3 separate regions of the Homo sapiens genome follow, and regions 1 and 2 are each linked to region 3. The links are contacts of gene promoters, found by promoter capture Hi-C in human tissues and cell types (Jung and others, 2019). All regions are on one chromosome and are shown on one strand. The core of a region is centred on a gene start or on the middle of the fragment in contact, and the rest is flanking DNA. Distances in the headings are between cores, read along the strand shown. Region 1 holds the start of LGALS2 (galectin 2). Region 2 holds the start of SH3BP1 (SH3 domain binding protein 1). Region 3 has its middle 7.2 kb from the start of IL2RB.

What was found. The method cuts DNA at HindIII sites, captures the fragments that hold promoters and counts their contacts. A contact is called where the count stands out against the background at its distance.
Region 1: a contact is called between the fragment with the promoter of LGALS2 here and a fragment that was not itself captured in region 3, in 1 of the 25 tissues and cell types used here (dorsolateral prefrontal cortex).
Region 2: the fragment with the promoter of SH3BP1 here is called in contact with a fragment that was not itself captured in region 3 in 1 of the 25 tissues and cell types used here (spleen).

Annotation. Positions count from the first base shown.
Region 1 is chr22:37,578,718-37,581,417 of GRCh38, forward strand. LGALS2 (galectin 2) reads right to left here and starts at 1,370. Exons shown (of 4, transcript NM_006498.3): 1 at 1,183-1,370. The coding sequence starts at 1,188. RefSeq lists a silencer at 1,697-1,756. The HindIII fragment of the contact is 22,309 bases long and covers 1-2,700 here.
Region 2 is chr22:37,638,419-37,641,118 of GRCh38, forward strand. It overlaps SH3BP1 (SH3 domain binding protein 1), which reads left to right and starts at 1,251. Exons shown (of 18, transcript NM_018957.6): 1 at 1,251-1,428. The coding sequence starts at 1,370. RefSeq lists silencers at 1-218, 849-998, 1,029-1,468. The HindIII fragment of the contact is 22,988 bases long and covers 1-2,700 here.
Region 3 is chr22:37,155,591-37,158,566 of GRCh38, forward strand. It overlaps a transcript of IL2RB not described here. Among named protein-coding and RNA genes, the nearest start is that of IL2RB, 7.2 kb to the left of the region's middle. The HindIII fragment of the contact is 5,288 bases long and covers 1-2,976 here.

The DNA of each region.
Region 1 (2,700 bases), core at 120-2,619, 420 kb after region 3:
GGTGGGCGGATCACCTGAGGTCAGGAGTTCGAGATCAGCCTGACCAACATGGTGAAACCCTGTCTCTACTTTAAAAATACAAAAATTAGGCCAGGAGCAGTGGCTCACACCTGTAATCCCAGCACTTTGGGAGGCCAAGGCAGGTGGATCACCTGAGATCAGGAGTTCAAGACCAGCCTGACCAACATGGAGAAACCCCATCTCTACTAAAAATACAAAATTAATCGGGTGTGGTGGCCCATGCCTGTAATCCCTGCTACTCAGGAGGCTGAGGCAGGAGAATCGCTTGAACCTGGGAGGTGGAAGTTGTGGTGAGCCGAGATCGTGCCATTGCACTCCAGCCTGGGCAACAGAAACTCCATCTCAACAAAAAAAAAAAAATTAGCCAGGTGTGGTGACACATACCTGTAATCCCAGCTACTTGGGAGGCTGAGACCAGAGAATTGCTTGAACCCAGGCAGCAGAGGTTGCAGTGAGCTGAGATCGGGCCACTGCACTCCAGCCTGGGCAACAGAGCGAGACTCCATCTCAAAAAAAAAAAAAAAAAGAGAAAGAAAAGAAACAAACAAAATTAGCCAGTGTGGTAGTGAGTGCCTGGGGTCCCAGCTACTCAAGAGGCTGAGGTGGGAGGATCATTTAAGCCAAGGAGGTCAAGTCCGTAGTGAGTTATGATTGCCACCACTGCACTCCACCTGGTGACAGAGCAAGATGCTGTATTGTTGTTGTTGTTTTGAGATGGAGTCTCACTCTTGTTGCCCAGGCTGGAGTGCAATGGCACAATCTCGGCTCACCATAACCTCTGCCTCCCAGGTCCAAGTGATTCTCCTGCCTCAGCCTCCCCATTAGCTGGGATTACAGGCATGTGCCACCAGGCCTAGCCAATTTTGTATTTTTTTAGTAGAGACGGGGTTTCTCCATGTTGGTCAGGCTGGTCTCAAACTCCCAACCTCAGATGATCCACCAGCCTCGGCCTCCCAAAGTGCTGGGATTACAAGCAGGAGCCACCACGCCTGGCCCAAGATGCTGTTTTTTAAAAAAAGACCTCTGTCCAACTTCTTTGCTGCACAGATGGGGAAACTGAGGCCCAGAGAGGGACAGCAATGGTTTTCCCTAAAAGCCCCCACCCAGGCAAAGACAAAGATGAACAGAGTGGGGCAGGCAGCAGGGGGCTAGTGTCCTCACCGTCATGGTGACAGCTCCTGGCGGCAGCTCCCAGCGGCTCCTGGAGGCCTGTGCTCAGGGTCTCAACTCGTGGTCAAGCTTATATCCTAGAATATTACACATTAACTCCCTCAAGGTCCTAGGTGAGGACTTTGCCCCTTCTACCTTGTGTCTCCCCGCCTGCATCTCCCAGTACCCAGCACAAACAGGCAGAAGACTCCTCAGCCAGCTCCACCCCACCCAGCCCGGAGCATCCTCCTGGCCTCCCTCCAGCCCAGCCTCCCCCTCCTCAGCGCTCCCAGAGCCCGAGAGGGGAAGCAGCCCCAGCTCTGCCCCCACACAAACCGCAATGCAGCCGCTTGACAGCTCTCCCAGCCTCCCTCACTTAGCCCAGCTTCCTTGCCTGTAAAAAGAGAGATTTGCTTTGCAAAAAAAAAAAAAAGTCTAGGTTTCTAATTTTCTTTTTTTTTTTTTTTTGAGACAGAGTCTCACTCTGTCACCCAGGCTGGAGTGCAGTGGCAACGATCTCCGCTCAATGCAATCTCCTGGGTTCACACCATTCTGCTGCCTCAGCCTCCCGAGTAGCTGGAACTACAGGCACCCGCCACCATGCCCGGCTAATTTTTTGGTATTTTTAGTAGAGACGAGGTTTCACCGTATTAGCCAGGATGGTCTCGATCTCCTGACCTCGTGATCTGCCCACCTTGGCCTCCCAAAGTGCTGGGATTACAGGCGTGAGCCATTGCGCCTGGCCTAAGGTTCTAATTTTCTATGATGTTATGATTCATTGTCAGAGAGCATTATGTTTTCTTCTTCCCTCCCCATATTATTTATCTGATCGGACATGTAGGTTTCAAAACCAATACACGGATTCAAAGAAAAGATTTCAAACTATTTACAACAAATGGTCAAAAGCAGAGGAGAGCTGGGCGCGGTTGCTTAAGCCTGTAATCCCAGCACTTTGGGAGGCCAAGGCAGGCGGATCACCTGAAGTCAGGAGTTTGTGACCAGCCCGGCCAACATGGTGAAACCCCATCTCTACTAAAAATACAAAAATTAGCTGGGCGTGGTCGCACCTGTAGTCACAGCTGCTCAAGAGGCTGAGGCAGGAGAATCGCTTGAACCCGGGAGGTGGAGGTTACAGGGAGCTAAGATCGCGCCACTACACTCCAGCCTGGGCGACAGAGTGAGGCTCCGTCTCAAATAAAAAAATAAAAAATAAATAAAAGTGCAGAAGGAGTGGGAGGGCTGAGTGGGGGACATGGAGGATGAAAATGCTTTGCTCTTGACTTCTGTTACTTATGTAACTGGCATGCTTACTATAGACAATTAGAGATATTAAATAAAAAGAAAAATAATCACTCATAATGCCACCGCCACGAGGGAACTGGCTTACGCTGTTGGCACATTTCCTTCCAGGCGGTTCTCCACAGATTTACATTATAGACACCCCTCTGTCTGTGCAATTGTTTATCTCTCTTCATTTGGGAAACATTAAAGACCACAAATCTATATTTCAGAACCATACTTTAATGCCTG
Region 2 (2,700 bases), core at 1-2,500, 480 kb after region 3:
CAATGAGTCCTGCCTCATTAGGGAGGAGAGAAGCAGCCAGTGAGTGTGCCAGGCCCTGGGCTAGGTGCTGGGAGTATGGAGATGTGTGGGGCCAAGGTCCTGCCTCTGAGAGGCGCCCAGTCTGCACCGGCACACAGTCTGCACCGGCACACAGTAGTGGCTCAAATAGTCTCAAACTAAACTGAAACTAACAAAGCAAAGTGCAGAGGGTGTGGCAGGACTCTGGGGCACACCCTCCCCTCTTCCCCACGCCTGCGGCTCCTGATGCCACAGGGGTGCAGGGTAAGGAGAGCCTACTGTTTCCTAAAGGCGCTCACATCTTGTAAAACCAGCAGTTATGGAGCACTTACTGTATGCCTAACTCTGTGTTGAGTGGAGGGCCAAAGAGGAGAACTACTGAGTTTGGGGGCAGTCAGAGCAGCACCTACATCATTGCCCTACAAGAAGGAAGGGGGACTGAGGCTGTTTGCCAGGAGGAATGAGAGGAGACGGGCTTCACAGATGGAGCAAACTGCCAGGAGATGTGGAGAACAGGGTGTCGCGAACCGCTCTGGGAGGGTTCCTGGTGGCTGAGGGGTGGCACGCACCTCCCTTAAAGGGAGCTGGCAGGGGTGTCTTGTCCACTCTGCAGAATGGGCAGGCCCAGGACAGCTGGCCCATCAGACCATTAGAAACAGCGAGTCCGGAGTTCCAGGGGCTTGTCCACGGCCACACAGCAGCCCGTGGCCCCAGGAAGCCAAAGCTCCCAGCCAGTCATCCAGTGGTGGGGGGTTTAGTTCCAGGGGGCCAGAGGTCCTCTGCGGAAGAGAGTGCAAGGCAGTATCCGCGGCAGGCCCAGAGAGGCCAGGACAGGTCAGAAAGGCCTACCCCTCTTTCGCTTGGTACCCTTTCCTCTTTGCGAGGGATGCAAAGGTTATTTATACTTCGGGTCTGCAGGCTGCGGGTGGGGCAGGCACCCCGCCTGGGGCGGGTTGCGGGCGCAGGGGCAGGAATGGGCTTACCTGCTTCCCGCCACCGGGGCTGGGCGGGGCGCTGCGGGGAGGAGGAGCCGGGCACAACCTGTGGACGGCCGCGGCCGGCGGACACACAGCAGCGGGGGCCCGGCCGGGGGTCGCCCGGGGGCCCGGAAGCCGGGGAAGAGCGAGGAAACCAACTTGGAGAGAGGAGTGACCTGGGGGCCGGGGGCGGAGTCGTGAGCGGGGGAGGAGAGAGCCGGCCGCCAGCAAGAGCCGCGCGGCGGCCCAGGAAGCGAGAGCGCCGCCCACCCATCCGGGGCAAGAGCCGCGCCGCAGGAGAGGCAGGCTGGACCGGGGGCTCCCCGGGCCCGCGACCCCCGCCGTGACCCCGCAGCCCCCAGCTCGCCCCCAAGATGATGAAGAGGCAGCTGCACCGCATGCGGCAGCTGGCCCAGACGGGCAGCTTGGGACGGTGAGTGTCACCCGCTTCCAGCCCCACTCTTACCCCGGCAGGACTTGAGGGGTCGTAAAAGGGTCGGGGGAGACGGGGGTGGGGGAGGCTGGGGACAGCTGGGCAGCCACCCTCTGAGCGGCCAGACTCCTGCTCTCTCTTCCTCCTCTCTGAACGCCGCCCCCGTCTCTCGGGCAGAGCTGGAGGAGCAAGGGTGGCCTTTGGGGGAAGGGATGCCCCCCCTTACCGGATTGGAGGGGGCTTCAGGCGGGAGAATGCTCTCTGCCCTAGGACGCTGGGACTTCTCTGCCTCCACGAGTCTCTAAGTGGATGGTCCTCCTGACCTCACTTGTCCCCTCTGGACAATGGGACAGTTCACCACCTCTGCTTGCTGGGCCGGGGAGGGAGGAGGGTCGATTAGGGCCACAGACCTGGGGCGAGGGGAGGAGATGGGTCCTGGCCTGGTGGGAGGAGGGGCCTGCCCCTGGCCTGCAGCGTCCCTCCCCCTCCCCCTCCCCCCAGCCCAGGGGCCTCCTGCTTCTGTCTCGTTTCTGCTTTTCCTGGACTCAGGTGGAAATATCCCCAGGTCTCCCAGCTCCCACCCCCAGCCTCTGAGCCGGTGGCACGGAGGCCGGAAGTTTGGGGAGCCTCTCAGAGCCTGTCTTCTCTGCTCCTCTTCCCCCAGCCTCAGGAGTTCCCCATTCTCTGGGTCCAGGGAGGGGACTGGGTGTCCAGAGACCTGGTTCTAGTCTCACACTGGCACAGATGCCTACATAGCCTGGACAGTCAGACCACCTTGCAGTGGGCCTTGGCATCCCCCATGTGTCCCCAGGTGGGGGCCAAGGGCCTGTGCACCCCTGCCCACAGCTGTAGTCCAGAGTGCTGTGTGACTGTGCCTAGGAGTCTGAGCTCCTGCACTTCCCGTTCTTGGGGCCAGCTAATACTCCTCATCCCGGGGTGGGCTGAGGATTTGGGAGTGGGCAGAAAAGAGGCTTCTGTGTCCCAAAGCTGGGCCCCGGGTGGGTCTCTCAGCCTCCCCTTTAGTTTCATCTGTCCGCCCTCTCTCAGGACACAGCCCTGGGTGGAGGAGGAAAAACCCATGTATCCTATTCCCACCCCCATGGAATGTGCTCCGACTGGGATGAAGCAACTGGGCCACCCAGGGCAGGCCTCAGCTGGGAGGGACAGTGGAAGCACTGGGGTCCAGGTGCCCTGCTGCGGGGAAGGGAAGTAGGGGGCGTTCTAACCCAGGCAGGCTCAGCAGAAGCACTCTCCCCCCCCCCCCCACCACTC
Region 3 (2,976 bases), core at 477-2,976:
AATGTGGCAGAGCCAGGATTAGAACCTAGGTCTGTCCCAGAGGACATCCGATTCTCTCTGAGGCAACCTGAGATGTAATCCAGAAGCTTCTCTGATGGCAGAGCCCTGACAGAGCCCACTCGGGCCTACCCAGACCTGGGTCTCAGGAGTGCTGGGGTTTGGACCCAGCCTCCTCCACGAGCTCCACGCCTTGCTCCTATAACTACTTCTCTTACGTCTTCCACATCCCCACCTGACCCTCTGCGCTGCATCTTCATGGGTCCCACTGGGAACAAACCGCCTCATACCCTCTGTTTCCATGCACCCAGTCCCACAGCCCTCCCACCACTGGACCCAGACCCCTCTTTCACAGGGGCCATGGGACAAGGGCATATTGGGGTCTTCCAGCCCTGATGTCCTTGGGCTGTCTTTTTTGGGGCCAAGCCAGACTGCATCCTCCTCAGTCCTGGTATCTGCCAAACGCCCTACCCGTCCTCCCTCTGCTCACTGGAGTGCTTGGCCCTTGCGCTCAGCCTCCCTCTCCACTCCGCCTCCCAGGAGATGTCAGGGTCCACACTGTAGCCTCCAGCCTCCTGTTCCCTCTGAACTGCTCCATACCAGTCCCACACCCAGGCCTGCACTTGCACCCTGCCATCATTCTGACCTGTGTTAACCAAGACCCCTTGAACTTCCACCTCAGCTCACCCGCGTGCTGCCATCACCGCCTCCACTGTACAACAGTGTCCCAGTTAGGATGAAGTTCAGCTGCGTGTGTCCAAAGAGAACAGAAGAAGAAAACAGTGACCTAAAATAAGAGAGGGCTTTATTTCTCTCTTACATAAAAGAAGTCCAAAGGGAGGCCACCCAGGCTAGGTGGGGTGGCTTTATGATGTCAGGATCCTGAGCTAAATCTGGCTTGCTACTAGGGTCTCTTCAATATCCTTCTCCCATCTCCTCATAGACCAAGAGAGCTATTCAAGCTCCACCCATCACCTCTGCGTTCCTGCAGATGGAAGGGAAAGGAAGGAGAGAGGGAGGGCTTGCCTCTGCCTGTTAAGGACCCTTCCCCAAAGCTGCCGTAGCCACTTCTAATGTACATCCCATTGGCTACGCCTGAGTCACATAGCCAACCAAGCTGCAGAGGAGGCTGGGAGATGTAGCCAGCTATAAGTAGAGGGCACACGGGCAGGGGAGAGCAGGTTTGGGGGTGCCATTCACTGTCTCTGCCACCGCCTGTCCTCTGCCATTGTGAAGACCTCCAGTATCTCCAGGGCCACCTCCCTTCCTGCCCTCCCTGGCTCAGCCAGCTGACACTGTCACCCACCCTCAAGTCCTTGTGTTCCGCCCACCCCTGCTCGGTGCTGTGACCTGTCTTCTGGAAAGTCAGCAGGTAGCCGAGTCCCCAGCTGGAAAAAAAGTCCTGCCCCCACAGTGCCAGGCCTCACCAGTGACCTGGTTTTGAGTCCTGGTCCCTGGTCAGGAGGACTATGGTATACATAATTTGGTGTCTGACCCTCCGCCCAGTCCCCATCAGACTGTGGGGTACCCCTCATGACAAATGAGGATCACAAAGCTGCAGGGGCCCACAGAGGGGCCAGAGCAGAACAAGGAGAAAGAGCAGGCTAGCGGCCGACTTCCTGAGGGCTGTCCTCCGAGCATGCCCCTCTGCTGACACCTGCTCTTCACTGGAGGCGCCCCACCCACCAGTCCCCAAGACAGACTGTGGCCATTCTCCCTGACTCCTTCCCTCCCTCACCCCCTCCTTCCAAGCCATCACCCTTACTTCTGCTTTGCCACAGCAGCCACCTCCACGCCAGCCCCCCAGGCTCCAGACCTGAAGCCCCACGTTCTTCCCTGTTCATCCGGGAGCTGCCTGCTTCATAGCCACACCAGCACCAGCGCCCTGAGCAGCTCCTATCTTGTGCAAACCATGCCATTCCTTACCAGGATCGCGCCAAGGTGACCAGCTGTCCCACTGTGCCTGGGACTGAGGGGGGTTTCCAGAACATAAGATTTACAGTGATATTCCTAGGACAAAGTTGGTCACCATATTCCCACCCTACTTACTCAGACTAATCAGCTCCCCGATTTAAAACCAGTCCTTCCCTGATCTCCAATTCTGGCCAAGGCAGATTCTGGGCACAAGCCAGTTACCATATCTCATGTCAGAGCCTTGCTTATGAGTCTACACCAGGAGCTCTTGGACAACAGGAACAGTGTGGGATTCATCCACACCACTCCAGAACCCAGAAAATTACCTGACATACGGACAGTGTCAATATGAGGGGAAGGAAGGAAAAAAGGAAAAGAGAAAGAATCAAAAGTGCTAAGTCCCTAATACCCTGAAGAGTCCTGAGAATACACATTAAAAACACCAGGATAGCATATTTGAAGTTTCAAAAGCTTTGCCATCAAAGGCAGGTTGAAAAGGCGAGTCACCCTGCTGGCGTGGGCTTCAAGCATCTCCCTGGAAGGCAATCTGACATCTACCAACATCTCTGACACATGACCCAGCAATTCCACACCTAAAACTCATCAACAGAGTGACCCATGTTGAACACGTGTGTACAAAGTAACTCCTGCAGTCACGGGACCCGAGGCCAACAAAATGCGCATCCATAGGGGACAGGTGATGAGCAAATTAGGGAACTTCCATCCAGTGGAATGCCACGTAGCTATGCCAAGATAGGAAGGGGAGGGCTGGGCGCGGTGGCTTATGTCTGTAATCCCAGCACTTTGGCAGGCTGAGGCGGGCGGATCACGAGGTCAGGAGATCGAGACCAGCCTGGCCAACATGGCAAAACCACGTCTCTACCAAAAATAAAAATTAAAAAAAAATTAGCCGGGCGTGGTGGTGGGCACCCCGTAGTCCCAGCTATTCAGGAGGCTGAGGCAGAAGAATCACTTGAACCCGGGAGGCAGAGGTTGCAGTGAGCCAAGATTGCGCAACCGCACTCGAGCCTGGGTGACTGAGCAAGACTCCGTCTAAAAAAAATA